5 separate regions of the Homo sapiens genome follow, and regions 2, 3, 4 and 5 are each linked to region 1. The links are contacts of gene promoters, found by promoter capture Hi-C in human tissues and cell types (Jung and others, 2019). All regions are on one chromosome and are shown on one strand. Each heading gives the region's core, a stretch centred on a gene start or on the middle of the fragment in contact. The rest is flanking DNA. Distances are from core to core; before and after follow the strand shown. Region 1 holds the start of ENOX1 (ecto-NOX disulfide-thiol exchanger 1). Region 2 has its middle 73 kb from the start of LINC00400. Region 3 overlaps ENOX1 (ecto-NOX disulfide-thiol exchanger 1). Region 4 overlaps ENOX1 (ecto-NOX disulfide-thiol exchanger 1). Region 5 overlaps ENOX1 (ecto-NOX disulfide-thiol exchanger 1).

Region 1 (4,338 bases), core at 626-3,125:
TCTTTACAGGAGAAAAATGCGTACCTGATAAGCTATTAGAAATGTGTATTTCTGGCCTGGAGCGGTGGCTCATGCCTGTAATCCCAGCACTTTGGGAGGCCGAGGCAGGCGGATCACTTGAGGTCAGGAGTTGGAGACCAGTCTGGAAAACATGGTGAAACTGTGTCTCTACTAAAAACTAAAAACTAAAAAAAAAAAAAAAAAAAAAAAAAAAAAAAAATTAGCCGAGCGTGGTGGCCGGCGCCTGTAATCCTAGCTACTAGGAGGCTGAGGCAGGAGAATTCGCTTGAACCCGGGAGGCAGAGGTTGCAGTGAGCCGAGATCGCGCCACTGCACTCCAGCCTGGGTGACAGAGCGAGGTTCCGTCTCAAAAAACAAAAAACAAAAGTGTATTTCTCTTAAAACTGTTTTCCCCATCCTTCTGCTCTAGAAGGGACAGTATAAACTGCTGGTGAACACTGACTTTCACATTTTGAGAGGTTAGGTTCTGAGCTTTGGCCCCCTCACACCCAGGGCATCCCACTGGGGTCCCTGCAGAGTGCTTCTACATGCATCCTTTGTTAAGGGTGCACAATGGATAAGTATTATTTTCTTTCTTTGCATTGGGGTTCTGACCGCCAGGGGGAAAAATAGCCACACACAAGGAAATGGCATAAGTTAAAATCAGGCAAGCCTAGTGGGGTGGTAATGACTTTCCCAGCATCCAAGTCTTTGCCTTCAGGTTACGTGAAGCTAGAAAACAATGTCATTCATTCAACATTTACAGGGAACTCACAAAGTACAGAGTACTATGCTAAGCACTGGAAGGCATGCAAAAGTGTGCAAAACACAATCCCTGCATTGAGGATTCCTGCCAGAAAGGGTATTTCAAGTATTACCCAGACCTTACGACCCTTGAAGAAATGCTTGTGTGAATAAAATCCCACTCAGAATTTAAAATAAGCAAGGAAAAGTATACTACTAAGACAATATATCTGTTAAGAGGCAGAGAATGTAAATGTGCTTTAAACATTTATTTCTGAAGTATTACAATGTAGTTGGGATGGAGGATCGGGGGATGTGGGTGTGTGTGGGGAGGTGGTGGGAGCGGTTCTTGGACGAGCCTGACTCTAAGGAGGCACTGCTTAGATGCCTGCACAGCTAAGTTGAATCCTAACAAAGAGGAGGCCGGCATTCTTACCTGGGAAGTGGGTAACTTTGAGAAAAAGTAGCCTCCAAGGAGGAAAAAAAGGCAACATGTCACCTGGGGTTAGGATCCCCTCACCCTTACCAACCTGAATGCTGACCGCACCCCGGCCGAGCCACTCTGGGCCGCACACCCCGCATCATCTGCCCAGGCCACGCGGCCCAATTCCACCGTCTACCCCAAGCCCACAATCCTGTAACACGCCCGCTCCAGCCTGGAGTCGGCCACGTGCGCCCGGGTTCTTCTCTTGGCCCTTCAGCGGGCCCGGCCCCTCCAAGGTCGCCGTAGCAACCGTGCGGTCCCTCTCTCGGTTCCCCCGCTCCCAGTAGAGCAGTCCCGACCGCGGCGGCGGTGGCGGGAGCGAGCGGCCTCGGCCCCTCCCGAGAGGGGGCAGCGCGACCGTGGGCTGCGGGCGCCGCCTCTGCTGCATCGGTGGCTGCGCGCTCCGCTCGGCTCTGCCGGGCTGGGATCCGGAGCCCTAGCGCGCCTCGCTGACTTCCCCTCCTCCTCTGCTGCCGCCCCGTGGGCAGCTTCTCCAAGCGAGACACGCGTTCGATCCTCCTTCCCCGCGTTTACGGATTTCCGGGGTCGTAGAATTTTGCCTCGGTCCCTACGAGCATCTCTCGGCCTCTCTCCCCCTCCCCTCGCGACTCCCCCACCCCGTGGGCGCGCGCGCACCCATACACTCACACTCGCAGGCGCGCGTGCGCACGCCCGCGCGCCTCCAGCCGCGGAGTCTCCAGCGCCCCTCAGCAGATCCCCGCTCTCCCGGGCGCCGCTACTCACACAGGCTTCCAGCCGCCACGGGGCGTCCTCTGTCTGCTGCAGCGGCGGCGGCAGCAGAGGGAACGGCGACTGCAGCCCGGCCGCGTCTCCCAGCTCCGTGCCCGGGACAGAGTCCGGGAGAAGCAAAGGAGGAGGAGGACGCCGAGGCTAGGAGGAGCCGCGCCGCGCCCGGCGCCCCACTCCGCGCAGCGGGTTGCCTCCGCTCCCCATACGGCGGCCCCAGGTAAGCAGCTCCGGGGCCCGCAGCCTCCCTGGGGCGTCCGGGCTCCGAGCCGGGGTCCTCTGGTCTCACCCCCGCCACGGCACCTGGATCTAGACTGAGAGGGGAGTGGGCGAGGGGGGAGGGGAGTGGAGCTAGAGGTGAGGCTGGTGAGGAGGGGTGCGTGGACGCGTGGGGGCTTCGGTGCAGCCCCCACGCCCTTCCCCGCCGTGCCCCGTCTCAAGCTCCCTCACTTTTACGCGCCCGGGGGTGCCCAGCGCCCCAGACAGCTGTTCCCCGCTCTCCCCTCCGCCCGCCAGCCAGTGTCAGCTCCGGGCTCCGCGCCCGCCGCGCGCCAGTCACCTCCCCTGCACCTTGGACAGCGCACCCCGCACCCGTCTCCCCCTGCGGGCGTCGCCCCCGGGACCCGTTCCTGCCCACACAGTGTTCCCGCTGCCCTCTTCTTTCAGGTTTTCACCCTCCCGCTCTGCATCCCTTTTCCTCCAGCCTTGGCGGACTCCGCTCTGCTGCGGGCCGGAAACTTTCCTCCCCGCCTAGTCTGCGCTGGGTACTGTTGTTATTCGTGACTGTCCCCTCTCGCGGGGAGCTCGGACACCTTGGACAGGTCTTCGTCGGCGGGAGCGCGCCCTGCCTGGCCCAACGCGAGGTAAAGGAGGCACTGGGGCAGCCGGACTCGGCCGCTGCCAGGGTGCAGAGCCCGCGCCTCGGCCGCTGGACGCCGGCCGCCTCCCCGCCTCTCCGGACCCGACACGTGCGAGCCTCCCACGGACGCGGCCCCTCCCAGACCACCCCACGTCCTCCCCCTGCACGGCCACAGCCACCCCATAGGTTGGACACCCGGGGCTCGCGGGTCCTGATTGGCTGAAGGCGTAACCCCGCCCTCTTTCGGAAGGGGGGTGGTTCTGGAGTGTTGTGGTTGTCATCCCGCGGCGAGCACATGGGGAAAGTGGGGTCGACAGGTGGGCAAGCCCAGCTCTGTGGAATCTCTGCGTCTCACTGTATAGCCACTGAGCCACGCTTCTTCACCCAGATACACTCCTGCTTCTCTCCTTTTCTCTCCCTCAATCTTTCACTGCTGTAACATTACATGAAAAAAACTGGCTTTGTAATCCCAATTTTGTTAAGATTGCATTTGTTTGGTGGTAGCAATTTTTAAAAGCAGACCCAGGAGAATGCAGGAAATACGTGCGTATGGAAAGGTTCCTGGCCAACTGGGCTGCAGATTTGAGTCTGGTAGTTTGGAGAAAGCAATGAAGCGTGCTTAAGGGATCTGAAGAGGGTGGAGAAAGTGGGAAGGAAATTGATTCCTGGAGGAGAGACGCAGGTGAGCGAGCTTGGAAAGCTGAGCTGGTGGGCCCGCTCGAGAGGTGGGTGCGTGCTGTTGGAGACGGCTCTGTCAAGCAAAGTGGTAATATTGGCTGGTACTTAGTTTATGGTTAACACACTCTGCTTTTGTTTTACTAGCGTTGCCACTTTGATAGAGACTTTATATTAATAATGTCTATTCATGTAATGGATATTGCTCATTCCAGTTTCTTGTAATATACAGATTTGAAAGTGATAATGAGTTTGAAAAAGTGAAAGCCCTCTTGGAGGAGATGCGTTAAACAGTTAAAGTGCTTTCGGAATATTGTGAGGGAAGACGGATGAGCATTGCATAAAATGCATATTGTTCTGGCATTATTTAGAGCCTTTGAAGAAATATATGTGTACGTATAAATGATACTGATTTCTCTTCATTTCAAAGCGTGATTGCCTCTAGCATTTTCCAGCTTTAATTCCTTCAGGCTGTTTTGATGTTGTGTCTGTACATCTAAGAATATTGTAATTCTTATCTTTAGAAGCCTTGTCAATGTGAAACAAACAGCAACTGATGCAAGTTAATGTTGACAACTTTATATTGAGTACACTGTGTGTTATTTTATTTGTAAGCTAGTGAAATATGCAAGAGTAACATAGCATGACTGTTGTTCCCCAGGGACCCATATCAAAACAAAGTGGGGAATCACATGAGGCTATTCCATGGAGAACAATTCAATTATTTTTAAGATGAATAAAATTTAAGATTCTTGGTTGTAAACAGCAACACTCTTTGAATTATCTTTGTACACATTGGTAGCATATGATAGTAAATCAACATATTAAA
Region 2 (4,338 bases), core at 582-3,081, 600 kb after region 1:
CAAGGTTCTGTACCACTTCAACCTAATCATTGTTTTTGTATATGACAGAGAACAAGCCTTGGAATCCTGGCATTAAAATCACATGTGGTCTCTGAAGGTAGAGTGTCATTTTATGAACAAGAGGAGAAGTCTGAATAGAAGAAACCTTTTATATAGCTAAAAAGAGCTAGTCTATACAAAATGGTGCAGAGCCATTTCTCCCAGCTCTTCCCACTAAACACACTATAAAATTTGGAAATAGTGCAGTAGGCCCCAAAGAAGAGAAAAGGGTGGTAAAAACAAGGTGAGCTACTGTGGGATTCCAGGACTTGAGGAACAACACAAAAGGAAAGTGATGGGGCATCTCGCATCCCAAATCAGGCCAAGGGGCCAGCATGAGACAGCCAGTTACAGTAGGTGGTCAGCCCTAAAGCCTCTTGGTCCCCATGGTCCTGAGACTCTTCTCCCCAACTCAGAGACACTGGGTTGGGGGCAGGTGGGAAGAGGTGGAGCCCCAGCAACCAAACTGACCCAAATAATACCACAAAGGCTCAGAAAATTAAAAAGCTAAAAAAAAAAAAAAAACTTTAGCTCATAAATGATTCTGATATTTTTGTAGCTAAGGATTAATAGGACAGGCTGGCATATATGGCAGCGTTGAGCTGCAGGACTAATAAAATGTTCTCAGTAAAAGGTTTTATCTAGAAATAGAGATGTCCAGGTAGGGTTGCTAGCAGTGAAAGCCCTTAACCTTAGCTTTATATTTTAAACACAGGCAGATTGAGGTTAAATTGAAATACACAATTTTATTGGTGTACAGGAAGCTAGAAAGAGACATTGGTCTGTACAAAGCTCTAAAATAAAATTTGATTTTCAGCTAAGGTGCTTTGGGGGAATACACATCAAAGCAGCTTTTGAATAAAATTGAAATGTGCTTTTGAGCAACATTTCAGGGTAGTGGACCCCTACCTGTATCAACAAGGCCTTACTTTTTTCAGGCCAATTTAAATATGAAAATAGACCATCTTCCTGAATCAGACCAGAATTTAGGATTCTAGTGCCATCATGAAAAGTATTATTACAGATGAGCAATGAGAAACTTTGGATAGTTCCTAAACTGTCCATATCTGAAGCAATAAACATCATAAGGTTGCCAGTTATCTGAAACCAAGCTGGGGAAGAAAGTAAAGTGTCGAGGTGGGTGGGAAGAATGTTTGACATGTTCACCAACATTTCAAAGAAAACAGAGGTCAGATATGAGAAATTAGTTAAGGATTAACTCAAGAATGTGAAATAAAACATCCCATATGGAGTTGCTATGTAATCAGTCAAATAACCAAACTGTCTCTTCTTACCCTCCCTCTTCCAAGATAAGATCCCTTCATAAATGACCTGTTCTGTAAAGAACAGTGGGAAAAATTGGTTCTTATGAAAATGGATTTGAAGCGTTTTGTTTTTTGGTTTTTTTTTTTCCTTTTTGGAGACAAAGTCTCACTTTGTCACCCAGGCTGGAGTGCAGCAGCGCAATCTTGGCTCACTGCAACCTCCGCCTCCCAGGTTCGAGCAATTCTCTTGCCTCCGCCTCCCAAGTAGCTGGGACCACAGGCACACACCTCCATGCCTAGCTAATGTTTTGGTAGAGATGGGATTTCACCATGTTAGCCAGGCTGGTCTCAAACTCTTGGCCTCAAGTGATCCGTCCGCCTCAGCTTCCCAAAGTGCTGGGATTACAGGCATGAGCCACTGCGTCCAGCTGGAAAATCAATTTTGAATTTCAAGAAGAGAATTTCCCTAATAACACCCAGAGGTTTTGAAAACAAAAACTGTAGCTAATAAAATCTGGTTGGATATATGACTTTCACAATGAAAAAGACTCCAAAATCTGTTGTACTTTTGTAGAGAAGTATTTTTTCAATCAGTAAGAGTCTGAAGACCACCAAGTCTACAAAGGCTGAAACCTCTGTCAACTATTGAAACAACAACTAGAGTCATGCAGCCAACTGCTCCCTGGAGCATGATGAAGATGCTCACTGTCATCTCTCCAGCAACATCCCATGTGGTTTTCTGCAAGTGTCTTTGTCTTAATTTCTAAGACTTTAAAAATGTAAAGAATTTCTAGCTTGCTAAAGTCTGTATTAAAAGAATGGAATATAATCTGCCAGATTAAAAGTGAGTTTAGGGTTTTTTTGTGACTTTTTCTTCATTATAAAAATAGTACACACTCAATATTAAAAACCTTTGAAAATACAAAAATATATAAAGAAGAAAATGTTTAAAAACCCTTAATCTCACCATCTAACATTAAGTTCATTAAAAATTGGTTTGTATCTTTCCAGCATTTTCCCTAAACATGTAACTTTTTTAAAAATTGGAATCATGCTACATGAAAAGTATGTATCATTTTCCTCTTTATATCTTATTCTTCTATATCAATAAATATTTTTCAATACATGATTTTGAATCACCACAGACTATTCTATCTCATAGATGTACCATAATTATCATCCTTATCATTGAATATTTAGTTGACATCCAGTTTTCTCTATTAAGAGTTTTAGTGAATATCCTTGTATGTAAATATATTTTCTGCCTCTCTAATAATTTATTTCTGATTTGCTCACAGAATTAGAATGGCTGAGTCAAAGGGTATAATGTGTTTAAGGCCATGGGCTAACTGAAACACTGCTTTTTAGAGAGGTGAACTAGATTATACTCTAATCAGCCATGTGTAAGAATGCTTGCTTTACCATATCCTTGAAAGAAATGATTCTTAACAAATTCGTGGGTAGACTTCTGTTTCCAGCATCGGCCAACTAGATAGTTTCAAAGAAGCCTTCTGGCTGAGAATAACCAGAGAAGCAGGATAATATATATTTTAAAAATATTTTTAAAGACATGAGACCTATCAAGAAAGTAAGACTTGTGAGGCAAAGATATGGAAGAGGAGAAAACCAAAAAAATGTAAACCCACAATTCAGAGTCACGTTGATACTTACAGCTGTTACTGATGTTCAAAGTCAAGGTGGCAGCTAAGAGTCTGAGAAACAGAGAAGGGCTTTTAACAGCTCCAGATTTAACAGTCAAAACTTGGAAATCACTAAGAAGAAGGGGCCCTGGTAAGCACCCTGGGCTTTCAGGATTGGAGGCCTAAAATGCGTGGGTGAACCAGCAACAGACCACACCTCACACTTAAGTCAAGCTTGATTGGATTAAGGTCATCAACTTCCTTGCCTAAATGCCTGCCAGAAACAAAGTAAATCCTCTCTGGAGGGGATAGCATAATCCAGAGCCACAAATTATCTCTGCCATTTTTCATGAAAAATATCTGAAGAGTTCAATAAAGAATAAATAGGTATACAAAAAAGCAAGGCTAAAGAGAAAAAAAAGAGAGAAAAAGAAACAGAAACAGAGCAGCGACAACAAAAACAATCCAGATACTGTAGCTGTAAGACACAGCTAGATATGTTCAATAAATTAACAAGAAGTTCTGACAAGAGTTAGAACCAGAAAATATAAAAAATAATCAAATTACATTCTAAAGCTGAAAACTATCAGTGAAATATAAAACTCAATAGATGGAAACAACATAAATATCCATCAACAGATGAATAAATAAAATATGGTACATGTATACATTGTTATTCAGAAATAAAAACAAATGAAGACTGCTACATGGTACAACATGGATCCACCTTGAAAACTATGCTAAGTGAAAGAAACCAGCCACAAAATACCACATACTGCATGATTTCATTTATATAAAATGTCAAAAACAAGCAAATCTATAGAGACAGAAAGCAGACTAGTGGTTGCCCAGAGGTGGGCATGATGGGAGGTTAAGTGGTGATGACTAAGAGGTCAGGGTTTCTTTTCCAGGTAATAAAAATGTTCTAATAATGTTCTAAATGTAAAAAAGAAATGTGGTGATGGATACACAACCATGTAAATATACTAAAAGCCACTGAATTATACACTTTAAATGGGTGAATTGTATGGTGTGTGAATTAATGTCTCAATAAAGCTGTTTTAAAAAAATCCTCATAGCATGATTCCAAATGGATAGATTTAAAAGCCAATTAGGTACAGTTCAAGGTGCACGCCTCTTGTCCCAGCTACTTGAGAGGCTGAGGCAGGAGGAACACTTGGGCCCAATAGTTCGAGGTTACAGTGAGCTATGATCACACCATTGCACTCCAGCCTGGGTGATAGAGTGAGACCCTGTCTCTAAAAAAAAAGAAAAGAAAGGAAAAAGATACTATTAAAAAGATGTTTAGTAAACTGGAATATAGGCCAAAATAAAATGTATTGATTGACACAAAGGGACAAAAAGATGGAAAATACAGGAAAAAAACTTAAGAA
Region 3 (4,338 bases), core at 649-3,148, 570 kb after region 1:
AACTGCCTCTATTTAACTAAAGTTTTGTATTATAGGCCCAGGAATATTGAATGTGTCATATGAAGTCTTTTCCATGAGAATATTAAATAAACAGTTGATTTGACTTCTTGGTCTATTTGGTGTCTCTTTTAAATGAATCCTAATATTGTTAAATGGAAAGTGTAGACTCTAAAATGATATCTCTACAGTGATTACACCATGAAAAAGTGTAATAGCTCTGATTCAATGAACATTTCTATGTGCCCATATCTGTGGTAAGCCAGTAATTTTCATGCTATCCTTATTAAATGTTATTTCCATTTGCTGAGGCTTAAAGAGACTAATTATCTCTGTAAGGGTCATTTAACTTGTGAGAATGAAGATACAGGATTCAAACAGAGTATCAGACCCCAAATTTTGGGGATATTCAAACAGAATATCAGACCCCAAATTGGCCGCCCTGCTGTATAAAATCCACATGCATACACATGGATTGGCATGCTAACACAGGACAACAAAAGCAATCACTGTGCTAGAGCAGAGGGATTATGGCTGATTTGTTCTTTAAAATGAATTATTGGTGTAAAAATTCATCAAATAAAAATATGGAGAAGAAAAAAGTTGCATTAAAAAATATACCTGAATTTTATGACTAGATATCAAGACTTGTATTGTTGTAGGTTTTGGAGTTTAGATTCCATTCCAAAAGCTTTATGGTCTCTGGTCTATGTGAAAATTAAGGAAGAGAAAGAAATTTGGGTGGCAAGAAATCCACCCGAATGTCTTCTGCTCCTGGCAGCATTAAAGAAAATTGCTGTCCTTCATAGATGAGGATGAAGCCACTAGTAGCTTTCCAGGAGTGGTGATGGATTTGCTGGGAGCCCTCTTAAATTCCCTCCCCATCTCCTTTTATATCAGGGGAGGGCTGTTCAGGAATGGTGCTGCCAGTAAGGTAGCCATCCATATGAAGGGTGAACTTGGCACTTTCCGCCCAGCCAACCCACGCCCCACCCCGCCAGCTGCTCGGGAGGTGGGATAATCACATTCAGTACTTCTGAATGTTCCTTCTATAAGGACATCCCCCTGACAGCCCAGTAGAAAACTAAATGCTGTTCATATCACTGGGAAAGCTCATCCTTCCCCAATCCATTCCTCCTTTAAGATGAGTTCCTTTCCCCAAAGTGACTTTCCTTCCTTTCTAACAGATATCTGCAAATGAAATAGAAATGCTTTTGATGAGGCTGCCACGCATGTTCAAACAGGAATTCACGGGTGTGGGAGCCACGCTGGAAAAAAGATGGAAGCTGTGTGCCTTTGAAGGAATTAAAACTACCTAACTGCGAAGAGCAAAGCATCTCTGGAAATGAAACCATGTGAACCTGGCCAGGGCGGTGCGACGGGGAAGCAGGAGGTGTGGGGTTGGTCCAGCACGCAACCTTTGTGGAGCCATCGAAGCCTGCCTTTAGTTATATCTGTGGCGTTCTCTTGTAAGTGGAAATGTAATTGTGTACCAGTTTCTTAAAATAAACAAAGCTTCATACTGTGACAGATCTGTTTCCTATGAAAACCAAACAATGATTCCACAGTCATAATGATGGCAAAATCTTAAAATGTGCTACATTTGAGAATAGCTCACCAAGCAAAATATTTAAAGTTAATGATGGTGTAGCAATGATTGTTGCTAGGCTACAGAGTTGTATATGTAATGTATAGCTGAAATCATTAAATGACATTTTCCTGAAAGTCTTTCTGTTTTAGTAAAAAAAAAAAAAAAAAAAAAAAGAAAAAGAAAAAGAAAAAAAGAAAAAAGAAAAAGTTTTACAGTGAGGGAAAAGCATACCAAAAGAAAACTTGAATATGTGTCTAAACAGTTATTGTATTTTGTAAATTAAGTTATATGCTGTTCCAGGGACTTTTGCCTTATTGAAGAGGCAGAAAATATGATTGGACACATTGAGAATGCTTTATCAAGAATATTATTTTTCTAATGTAACAATTCTCCATCATAAGTTCTTTTAACATGGACTGCATAACAGTTTTCATAAAGTGTAAATAAAGGAAAAACTAGTGTTATTGTCTTGTACTTGGTATGTAACATTCAGGTTTATGCATCAAAATAAACATTCAGTAAATATTCCTGTTACAAATTTTATAGCAAAGATATTAATTTTTTTCAATAAATATGACTTCTACCATATTGGTTTTACAAATTATTCTTTGATATATTTTATTTCTCCCTTAAGAAATCTTTTTCTCATTATTCAGTCCCATCTCATATCCTATTGTTTAAAAATGATAAAATAAATGAGTGACATTAAGAGATAAAACATTATTTCAAATAGGAATATATAAAAATTGTGGAGTGGAAATTACCAAGAAAGGAGATTATACAGCATTAATATACAGTGTTAGAGTAGATTTTTAAAAATAGTATGACATAGCATCCACAAATAATAAATTTTACCTTGTTTTGTGTCCTCCTGGGCAGATACAAAGTAGCCCATTAATCTTATTAACTCTTGCATTTATGTATCTGTATGTTTACTGGAAAACACATTAGAAAGGAAATTAAGGGATCCACACTTGGACCAACAATTTAGATAGAATTTGGGCTTCCCCTCTTTATTTTAATAACAAATGGGATATGACTTAAAATTTTGTCCCCTTCCTGCTATCCTACATAAGAATCACAAAAAAGACAAGCATCCTTAATTGTAATTGAAACATTTTTTAGGAAGACAGCTAAACAGTTAATGTTCTCTGATATTATGAAAAGATATTCATAATTTCTTATTGGACTTTTTGTCCTTTATTGATACCTTTATTGATAAGTACCTTTACTGATCTCTAATAAATTAAGATATTTACTCATACCTCCCATAAATATCTACACAAGTGTTTTGTTCAGGCTCAGGGCTAACACTATGAATATAAAGGTAAGTAAGAAAAGACCCTCTCCTTAATGTGCTCAGAGTTCAGTGTGAAAAAGACATTTTCGGCCCAGCGCGGTGGCTCATGCCTGTAATCCCAGCACTTTGGGAGGTCGAGGCGGGCAGATCACTTGAGGTCAGGAGTTCGAGACCAGCCTGGCCAGCATGGTGAAACCCCATCTCTATTAAAAATACAAAAAAAAAAAAAAAGTAGCTGGGCGTGGTGGCAGGCACCTGTAGTCCCAGCTACTAGGGCAGGAGAATCACTTGAATCCAGGAGGTGGAGGTTGCAGTGAACTGAGATTGCGCCACTGCACTCCAGCCTGGGTGACAGAGCCAAGACTCCGTCTTAAAAAAAAAAAAAAAAGAAAGAAAGAAAAGAAAAAAGAAAAAGGCATTTTCCCAAAAATTTCTATATGATGTGATTCTGGTAACAAGAAAGATATGACAGGTGCTATGGCATTCAAACTATATGTCCATATCATATTAAACCCTACACACCTTCCCTTACCATCAGTCCATGCCTGCTACCACCATCATCCTGACAGATTTATATCCAAATCAAGAGACACAAATAAAGACACAACAGTCAGAAAGGAGAAGACATCATTTACAGATGATGCTAGTATTGTAAAATAGAAAACCTAAGCAGTTCACGTGAAAAACAACAAGGAAAAAAGAATTCAGTAAAGTGGCTAGTTCTATAAAGTCATGAAGTCTAGTAAGGATACAGGGGAAGGTACCACAGCCTGTGCTATTTCTAATGGAAAGCATGGTGGATATCCTCAAACATGCATTGATACTTTCAAGTATTACTGGCAGTCACATTAGCAGAAAGACATCCTGCACAGGGTAAACCCCCAACTCTGAGCTCTGTGCTCACACAAAGCTGAGGGACCTCATATTAGATCTGACAAGAAGATATCATTTCCAAACACGTGGATATGAGCCCTACGGGGCAACTTGGGGGAGTGAAATGGTTAATTCAGCTTCCAAAAACATTAGAGTCATTGCTGGAGATAAGCTGCTGCACTAGAAAAATCTGTTTTGGCTGTAAATTTTTTATTTATACTTGAAATGAATTCTGTTACTTGTCTAGAAATATGTTGGTTATATATTTTAACTTCAATTATGTGAATCATTTATCTTTGGATTTTTTTAAATCCTCTAAATTATTTCACAGACTCTCAAGTTTAGATGGGACTTTGGAGATCACCTGGGGAAGGAACTAACATCTGTGCCTATGAGAGTGGTCTGGAGACTACGTATATCTGTCACCCCATCCTCTTTAATCCTCCTGATAACTCTATATGAAGATAATATTATCATCCCCATTTGTCACACAAGGATAACGAGGCTCAGAAGTTTTAAGTAATTTGTCCAACTTTGCAGTTAGTAACTTTTGAATCAGGATTTGAACCTAAAGCTA
Region 4 (4,338 bases), core at 1,228-3,727, 550 kb after region 1:
ACCAAGCTTTGCTTTATCTGCCTCTTGCATTTATTCATGAGGATCCATACCTACTCAATTTAAAAACACTTCTAACAATTCTATCTTAGCTCCCCAATAGGCCCTATTTCTCCACACACTCAGAAATTTTTAGCATGGTATTATAAATCAGTTTCCTGTATGCTTTCCCAAAGATTATTCATCTTTGAAATAAAACATGTTAAAGTAGCTATAATCAAACACAGTTTTAATGAACAGAGTTTAATGAAAACATGGACAAAAATCTAAGATAACTTGTGCCAAATTTGCCACTTGTGCAGAGAATTACTTGGTATGCGGGGAGCAGTACCTAGGAGCCTAACTTTACATAATTACTTTTCTACTCTTGGGCAAATAGATCAATTGTATAAAAGATTTGATCTTTAGTTATAAATAGAAGTGATGACCTTATTTATAGAGTTTAAGAGATCTGGTGTTTTTTATTGACATGCACAGAATCTACATAAACCCATATATGGTTTTTGGCTTTTAACTTTATAGGAAATCAATGTGTTGACAGTTGCATTAGTCAACCAAGACCGAGAGAACAATATTGAGAAAAGAAGCCAAGGCTTAAAATCAGAGAAAGAAGCTCTGCTAATAGGTAAGGAAATTCTGTTTTCTTCATCTGTTCTCTTAAATAATTATTAGGTAATTAACTTAATATTTTAGTTATTAACTTATTAATTTAAACAGCATTGCCTTCTGGTAAAAGGTGAGATTAATTTCATCAAGATTATATTACATACATTTCAAATTAGTGGCATACAAACTAATGGGGGTTTTGCCTTTCTGTAACTGTATATATTAACTGATTGTCAGACATGAAACTGAGTTCAAGAATACGCTAAGTTGCATCTCACATGTTACAAATCTGAATTTCAAAGCTTGGGCATGTCACTTCCAACTGGAGGCCAGGTTGCATCTAGTTCCAAACCAAGCCATATCCCCAGGCTCAAGAGCAGCTTTGAACCCTGAGATTAAACTCTAAGCCCCTTAGCAGAGGCCACATCCTAAAGTCACTCCCAAGGCTAGACCTGCAATGCTGACAAATAGGGCCATGCAGGGTACTGATGCTAGGCTAATCCAGGACAATCGGCTTCAGGCTTCCCTGTCCAAGTATGGATCCTTTTGTCCAGGATGAACAAAAGAAGCATCCTCAGTGGATCCAGATGTCTTACTTATTTTCACGAGGAAGAATTCTTGATGAGGATGTGCCGGCAGTGTGCATGGAAGCCCATCTTAGATGCCTGTATGTTTAAGGCTGTCTTTGAAGCCCTCAAATTCAGAGGAAGGGAAGCCACCACCCTCATGCTGTGATGCACAGAACTGATTCAAGCTGCACCTTGGCACTGACCCCAGTGTGGGGTTGCCAGGTGAGACTGGCTCCATGGTGGCATGGTTAAGACTGAAGAATGAGGCCAATGTACATGCAAGACAAACTGTTCTTCAGCAGTTCATTATCTGGCAGAAATAGTGCCTGGTTGCATTTTTTTTTTTTTTTTTTTGAGACAGGGTCTCACTCTGTTGCCCAGGCTGGAGTGCAATGGCACAATCTCGGCTCACTGCAACCTCCTTCTGCCGGGTTCAAGTGATTCTCCTGCCTCAGCCTCTCTAGTGGCTGGGATTACAGGTGCACACCACCACGCCCAGCTAATTTTGTATTTTTAGTAGAGATGGGGTTTTGCCATGTTGGCCAGGCTGGTCTCAAACTCCTGACCTCAGGTGATCCACCTGCCTTGGCCTCTCAAAGTGCTGGGATTACAGGCATGAGCCACCGCGCCTGGTCCCTGGGTGCATTTTGTAAATACTGCATGTGCTCACCTAAAAATGACAGGTACAACAGGACCTAGAGAAGCTGGCACATGAGGAATTAAATTCAAAAGACAGTCCAGAGTCCATCCATCATATATAGATTTTTCAACTACAGGGTTATTGAATATGACATCAACTTAGAGATACTCCCAGGAAAACCAATTATTTTTTTTTTGCTCTGATGATATACAGCTGTAATAACATGCCATGCATGAGTCTCAGAAGACATGCTGATGTGCTATCAGTTCCAGGAACCCAAAACGAACCCATATGTAGTTGGTAACTGGATTTTTCTTCTATTGGAAAACATGTCCAAGTCTGACAACTGTTTCTCTGTCACTCAGTGTGACCAAGGTGTGATTTTTCCCTATAATGCTTTTAGGGTATGAACAAAGCAATTAATGATCTGCAGTAAACTTTTCCCTCTTTAAGTAGGAAGAATTCTGTCCACTTGAAGGTTAAAAAAATGGGAACCAGTCTCTATTTTTTTATTTCCTTCCTTTCACTAGAGATAGCTGCTTCTTTTATGTTTTAATTGGAGAACACAGTTCATTTAAAATGTTTTCTAAGTAGTTATTAGGTTTTATTTATATATGTATACACATACATGTACTTTTTTCAGTTGGCTACTTCAAATATTTTTAAATGATGTGCTTTATATGCAGTACATTAATGGGAGTAGGTAGGAAGATTACATTTATAACATGCTATGCCTGCTGATGTCTTTGGTATCACAAAAAACTATATAAAATTAGTTAAATCAAGTGTGTTAGAAAGAAAAATATTAGTCAGGATCTCCAATAAAAAGCATATACAACCAATTCTAAATTTTCCAAGACTTTTCCCCTCACTGTTGGTCTTTTGAACTAGTTTACTAATATTAGCATTTGAAGTTAGGAGTAGAGCAAAAGAGAAACAGGGGGTGACACTTATTTTGAATCAATATATGAGAACATTTAGGTAGAAGGGAGGCCAGAGACTTAAGTGATTAAAATAAACTTAGGAGTTTAACTTTCCCTTCAGTTATCCATTACCTTGCTACCTTTCTCAATATTTTATTTTATTATTCTTAATGACAGTTTGGCAACAGATGTGATTTCCTTGCCAAACCCACTTCCAAAACATCTATATACTTCTACTCTTTTGTATAATCCTCCAAAAGAGGATAATCCTCCAAAAGAATGCCACAATGGGAAAGAGTTTCCAAGACCAGCAAAATGGATCCTGCCAAAAGCTGCAGTTTCTGCCTGCCACTAAATGATCCTATCTACTCATTGAGTTTGGTCATTCATACTTTGTAGATACCTGAATCTTGCGTCCATAAAGAGCTCCCCTGAAGCTTCTGGAATCTAGATACAGACTGTGGTAGGGACAAAACTGCTCTGGATCAGAATAGAGAAAAAGGATTTCCTGGTGCTGGGGCTACACTTTTCTGAAGAATTCTCATGCACTGAATGATTCTAGGAGCCCTCTGGCCTTCTGGTACATCTGGAGCAGTCATAAATACTCTTTGCAATTCCCCCTGAAATCTTCCCTTGGAATAATTAAGTCAGTAGAGAGGACACAAAAGTCATGCTCTAGGCCAGCCTAGAAGGCCAAGGACACAGCAGAAAATCTCCCACAACTTGGAAACATTAATTGGCAAAATCTTCATCATATCTGCATGCTTATAGTGTATGCTGTATGCCAATATAGTCAGATGATCAGTGCCCTCTTGGGGCACATAAATGTTATATAAGAAACGCACACTGGCAGAAAGCATTCCCTGGAAGAGAAAGGGAGTGAGAAAAAAGCTCTTCAAATGGATTCCATCTACAGAAAGAATAAAACTGAGGCTAGAACTTCCTAAACAATGAGCAATTCTAGTTACATATAATTATTTGTGACACTGATTTATCTGGGCAAAAGGGTGTATTCTGCCCAGACATTCTTATGACTATTGTATAAAACTAGAGTCTTTATTTCAAGGCATAAAGTTGATATTTATTAGAGAGGATCCGTGGGATTTCATTGACATAATTTGGAATTTTGCAGATCTGGATCCTGAGTATTATTAGAGTTCGACCATTCTGATGGACTTTCTTCTTGACAATTAATGGGTCTTCCAATTCAACTAAAGAAGACAGGCCCCTGGAAAATACTTTATTTTTGTGATTTCTGGGTTATTCATTTTGTAATCAATTTTTGTGGAGACAGGTTGACATATAATTGGACCTTAGAGAATTCTGTTTTTATGGGGGCATTGCAGGGTAGCATTTTGTTTCATAATGCTATAGTAACCACACATAAGGTCAGCTTGACATTGCTCAATGTCTATGCCAGAACTAGTTTATTTCACATATGGCCTGCATGTTGGATTGGCATACACTGAAGTTGTTTGGGATAGAATGAGTCATTACTTTTGATTTGGGGCCAAAGTTTGGGAGCTGTGTTTGGCTGGATATTGTTATAAAGGAAAAATGGATCAAATTTTTTTTATTGACAAGCTAATAGTTCTGCAGAGAG
Region 5 (4,338 bases), core at 548-3,047, 520 kb after region 1:
TTCTTCATGTTACCATTCCTTTGGCAAAACCCCTTCTTTGGCATGGAGCGGGTAGGGCTTTTTTTTGCTGGGAGTTTAAGACTGGCCTTAAAAAACTAAAGAAGCTTTCATTTTAATATGCACAAGTAGCCAGAAGGAACCAATGTTATGAATCAAACACATTGGTGGTATATGTGCATTGATTTTCTTTCAAATCTTAAGTATTTTTTCCTACCATGAATACTTTGTATTAGGTATAAAAAAGATAATGGAGGAGATGCTGCTTTCCTAAGTCAGGAAAAAATACTGGCAAAACAGTTGCAAGCCAGCTCACCCTCTTCCTTTGCCGTCTGATTCTAAATGTCTGTTTTGCGTCAGGATAGGATAAAATGACAATTAAAGGTTTCCTGAAACCTCCTTATAACTGATTACTCCTAAGCCTCTGAGAAAGAGAAATGTTTTCAAATGTTCACTGCTAAAAATCTCATTAGAGAAATATAATTTCTTCTAATGCCTCAGCGGCCAAGGAGATGTCATCCAAACTCTTTCTCTACCAAAGAAGCAACCGTCTTTAGTCCTCCAGAGATGTCAGTCATTCAAATATATTCTCAAGGAGGACCTGTCTGGTAGCACAGTAGCATGTTAAAAGCAGCTGAAAATGCATCATTCACGAATAATCGTTAATATAACATCATTTTGCTGGTGGCAACTTGCAAACACTGCAGGGTTTAAATTAATAGCAATCCAACTAGGAAATGAAATCATTTATTATTCTTAAGAACCAATTTTATACATTTTATGCCTATGGAACTGCTTTCTAATCTTATTATTTAAAAAATAATGACCAAGACCCATTTATTCTTTTGCCAGGCATCAAACTTCATAAAATATTGGTCTCAAACTGGCTCCAATAAGGCTCATTAGAAATATGTGCTCCATCTGTTTTATCTCATTGGAAGTTTTATAAAATGCAACCTCAGATAAATCAGTTAACAAGATGATATACTTAAGAGATTTGCTTGCTTATTCATTTTTTTGTTTTGTGTTGTTTTTCCTTAAAATTTGCAGTTAAAAGGTACCAAGGAATTGGTCGAGACCAATGGCCACAGCCATGAGGATTCAAATGTAGGTACCACAAACCTGGTATTTGTTCTTCTTGCTTGACGTTGGTTGAACACATGGGGATGTAGCACTTTATCTACCACATAAAGGAAATCAGAAGCTCTGCCTGTCAGCAGCTTAAGATTAATATATGGGTTTGGCAAGAAAATGTGATTGACAGGCACTGCTATTGTCAGCCTAGTTTATCAAATGTCAATTTAGAAGTATGTGAGCTAATCCCCACCATCAAAAATTCTAATTTCAGTGAGTCTGTTTGAGCTCTTTGTATTTCCAAAACTATAACTGATGATATACTGGGAGGGAAATAGCAAGAGACCCGACAGGGTAATCAGTTGCGCATTGCATGTATATTCATTAAGTTTGCCTGCCAGCGAAGGTGGTACCTAAATGACTGACATGCTGAAAAGGTCTCAGAGAAAACCCCTTCTCTCAGAATAGCCCTTGAAATGTACTCCTTCTCTGTTCCTCACCCAGAACAGTAGCACAGTGCATCCATCTTCTTGATAAAGAATAATGTGTGATGGTACAAGATCCCAGTTACACCGTGACTTCCTCTCTTAGTGTTCCTTGAATATCCAATTGTCAAAAAGTAAACAAGTGTTCTTTTTGCCTTGAAAGTTCTTTAGTCTCAGATGGAATATTATACCCTGTAGATCATTGCCTCTCCATATGTTTGATGATTTTGTCTTTTTTAAATCTCTCTGATATCTGTATTTGATTATCCTCATCAAAGAAAATGCTTACTAAGCAGTTCTTTTCACTGAACACAGAATTAGACATGATAATGAATGCCTGATTACACTAGAGCTAGGAGAAATTATATATTTCTTGTTCACTCTTGTTTTAATTATATACAACAGAGAGCCTAATATTCAGAGTATCAAAAAAATCCCACTTAATCATTATTGTTCCTACCCAGCAGATATTTAACATATGATGTTTATTGAGGACTTGTGTGCTCATAGGACTCTGCTAAGTTCTAGGGGAACAGAAATGGGGGTTACAAAGAAATATAAGACTAGTTGTCTGCCCTCGGGGAACTTACAACTGAGTTAAGGAATTAAGAAACACATGACAAGATACAGGACATGATAAGTGTACAGGAAGTTGAGGCAGCTATGATGTGATGTAGTTTGAAATCCAGACTTTGCTGCTTATTAAATGTATCAGCCTGACAAGTTACTTAACCTCTCTGAGCTTCCTTTTTCTCACTTGTAAAAAGAATGGCAAAGCCTATCTCAAAAGCATGTCATAATATTGTAATGAGCTAAGGCCTGGGAAAACCTTAAGGTGTTACACGTATGGTTTCTTTGTGCTAGATAATCAAGAAAGGTTTCCTGGATCTGTGGGACTTGGGTTTGGTTTTGGGGAGTGAATAGGATTGAGAAAGTAGAAAGCCAAAGGAGGAAGCCATTCATACAGAGCTCCCCATAGGCAATGTTGTGAGACATAGTTTATCTTTCCACTCTCATATTCATGACCCTCATCCTTACCCTAAAACCCTTCTTCAGCACCCTGTCTTCCAGGGACACAAGGCTGCCACATTCTCAACCAAAACCTTCATATCCACTCCACACACAGCCAGTCCCTCTGTGGCTTCCAGGGAAGCTGCTGTCTGTTCCAATAAGCCAGACAAAGTGGCAGTAGGCCTCAGTTTCCTGGTTTGTAAAATGGGGATAACTCCTACCTTGCCTTCCTTAAGGCTTATTGTGAGAAGCAAATGAGAGAATGTATGTGGAAGTACTTGTAATTGTGAGGTTCTAGCTAAGATGTTTTGATTATAAATTGATCTGCTGATTGAATTAGATGATACATGTATAGACAGGCCTAACACAGTATCTAGCCCATAGGCCCTTTTTGAAAAATTTTAAAAGTCACTTATTATTCAATGGAAAAAGTAAAGTGAGATAATCTTCGAGGTCTTTGTCCCTTCTACAGGAAAGTTTTCAGCTTTTTTAAGATACCTGTCTAGAGTCTATGACGTAGGCTTTGTTATCAACTCAAAGCAATGACTGTTGAGAGATGGGGTTCTGGCTCAGTAGGAAGGAAGAGCAGCACCTTGACCTAGGGGGTGGGGGAGATATTTGTGAAGTAACAGAACCTGACAGTCCTTGCCAGTCACTGCGGGTGGCCACCTCCCTCCCTAGGCAGAGGGCTGGGCTAATCTTTACAATCACTGCCTGTTTTATCAGGGGTTTCCCAGGTGGTGGATTACTTACTCACCCTCTTTTCTGTCTGAACTTTGTCTCCTTTTGGAAGTTTCCCCAGTACCTCCACTAGGGTATGTGAAAGAAAAGAATTAATCATCAATTATTTTGCCCTCACATTAGGAGCACTGGCAATATTTTGCAAATCTATTCTTAAATGTCTGAAATGAAGTCTACGTCTCATCTGAAGTTGCCACCAGCCTTGTGGTGGTCAAAAGAGACGAGGCCTTCAGACCCGACTGAGAGGGTTTGAATCCATTTTGATCACTGAGTAGCCATGTGACTGAGACAAATTATTTCTGAACTTCACCTTCCTCATTTGTGTGTTAAATGAAACCATGTACATTAACACCAAGCCTAGAGTACATACTCAACAAGTATTAATTCTCTCTTCATGCATCAATAGTATTTAATATAGGCTGGGTGTGGAGGTTCATGTCTGTATTCCCAGCACTTTGGGAGGCCGAGGTGGGCGGATCTCTTGAGCCTAGGAGTTCAAGACCAGACTGGGCAACATGGCGCACCTGTAGTCCCAGCTACTTGGGAGGCTGAAGCAGGAGGATCACTTGAGCCCAGGAGGCAGAGGTTGCAGTGAGCCGAGATCACACCACTGCACTCCAACGTAGGTGACAGAGCGAGACCCTGTCTCAACAAATAACAAAGTATTTAATATAGCAGACAGGACTTTTGGCAGGATGAATTTTAAGGCAGAACACAAGGTTTAAAGCCTCTGGACCAAAGGCTATTGTCTGAGACAAATAAATTATTTTTCATTATAATTATTTATATCTGGGGGCAGGAATTTCATGCATTATCATTTATTAATAACAATTATACAGTGGACTGGTGCCAACTTAGCTGGGTGTTCTTGTGAGAGCTGACAATTGTGTTTTTAAAACCACTATGTTTTATTATAAAAGTAAAAAGCAAAAGTATGTTTGAAGCTTGCAAATTATAGAAAGAAAAGAATATAGGGGTAAGGAAAAAAAATCTTGGTATCTCATTACTCAGAGATAACCACCATTAACGC

Evidence for each region. The method cuts DNA at HindIII sites, captures the fragments that hold promoters and counts their contacts. A contact is called where the count stands out against the background at its distance.
Region 2: a fragment that was not itself captured here is called in contact with the fragment with the promoter of ENOX1 in region 1 in 3 of the 25 tissues and cell types used here (IMR-90 fibroblasts, lymphoblastoid cells and mesenchymal stem cells).
Region 3: a fragment that was not itself captured here is called in contact with the fragment with the promoter of ENOX1 in region 1 in 3 of the 25 tissues and cell types used here (dorsolateral prefrontal cortex, heart left ventricle and mesenchymal stem cells).
Region 4: a fragment that was not itself captured here is called in contact with the fragment with the promoter of ENOX1 in region 1 in 3 of the 25 tissues and cell types used here (dorsolateral prefrontal cortex, heart right ventricle and mesendoderm cells).
Region 5: a contact is called between a fragment that was not itself captured here and the fragment with the promoter of ENOX1 in region 1, in 4 of the 25 tissues and cell types used here (IMR-90 fibroblasts, aorta, mesenchymal stem cells and 1 more).

Annotation. Positions count from the first base shown.
Region 1 is chr13:43,784,509-43,788,846 of GRCh38, reverse strand. ENOX1 (ecto-NOX disulfide-thiol exchanger 1) reads left to right here and starts at 1,875. Exons shown (of 17, transcript NM_001347969.2): 1 at 1,875-2,195. The HindIII fragment of the contact is 9,406 bases long and covers 1-4,338 here.
Region 2 is chr13:43,184,199-43,188,536 of GRCh38, reverse strand. No RefSeq gene overlaps it. Among named protein-coding and RNA genes, the nearest start is that of LINC00400, 73 kb to the right of the region's middle. The HindIII fragment of the contact is 4,181 bases long and covers 1-3,921 here.
Region 3 is chr13:43,210,968-43,215,305 of GRCh38, reverse strand. It overlaps ENOX1 (ecto-NOX disulfide-thiol exchanger 1), which reads left to right. Exons shown (of 17, transcript NM_001347969.2): 17 at 1,185-2,176. The coding sequence ends at 1,316. Among named protein-coding and RNA genes, the nearest start is that of LINC00400, 100 kb to the right of the region's middle. The HindIII fragment of the contact is 4,030 bases long and covers 1-3,913 here.
Region 4 is chr13:43,232,920-43,237,257 of GRCh38, reverse strand. ENOX1 (ecto-NOX disulfide-thiol exchanger 1) reads left to right here. Exons shown (of 17, transcript NM_001347969.2): 15 at 520-622. Among named protein-coding and RNA genes, the nearest start is that of LINC00400, 120 kb to the right of the region's middle. The HindIII fragment of the contact is 4,042 bases long and covers 457-4,338 here.
Region 5 is chr13:43,262,164-43,266,501 of GRCh38, reverse strand. It overlaps ENOX1 (ecto-NOX disulfide-thiol exchanger 1), which reads left to right. Exons shown (of 17, transcript NM_001347969.2): 14 at 1,048-1,104. Among named protein-coding and RNA genes, the nearest start is that of LINC00400, 150 kb to the right of the region's middle. The HindIII fragment of the contact is 6,675 bases long and covers 1-4,338 here.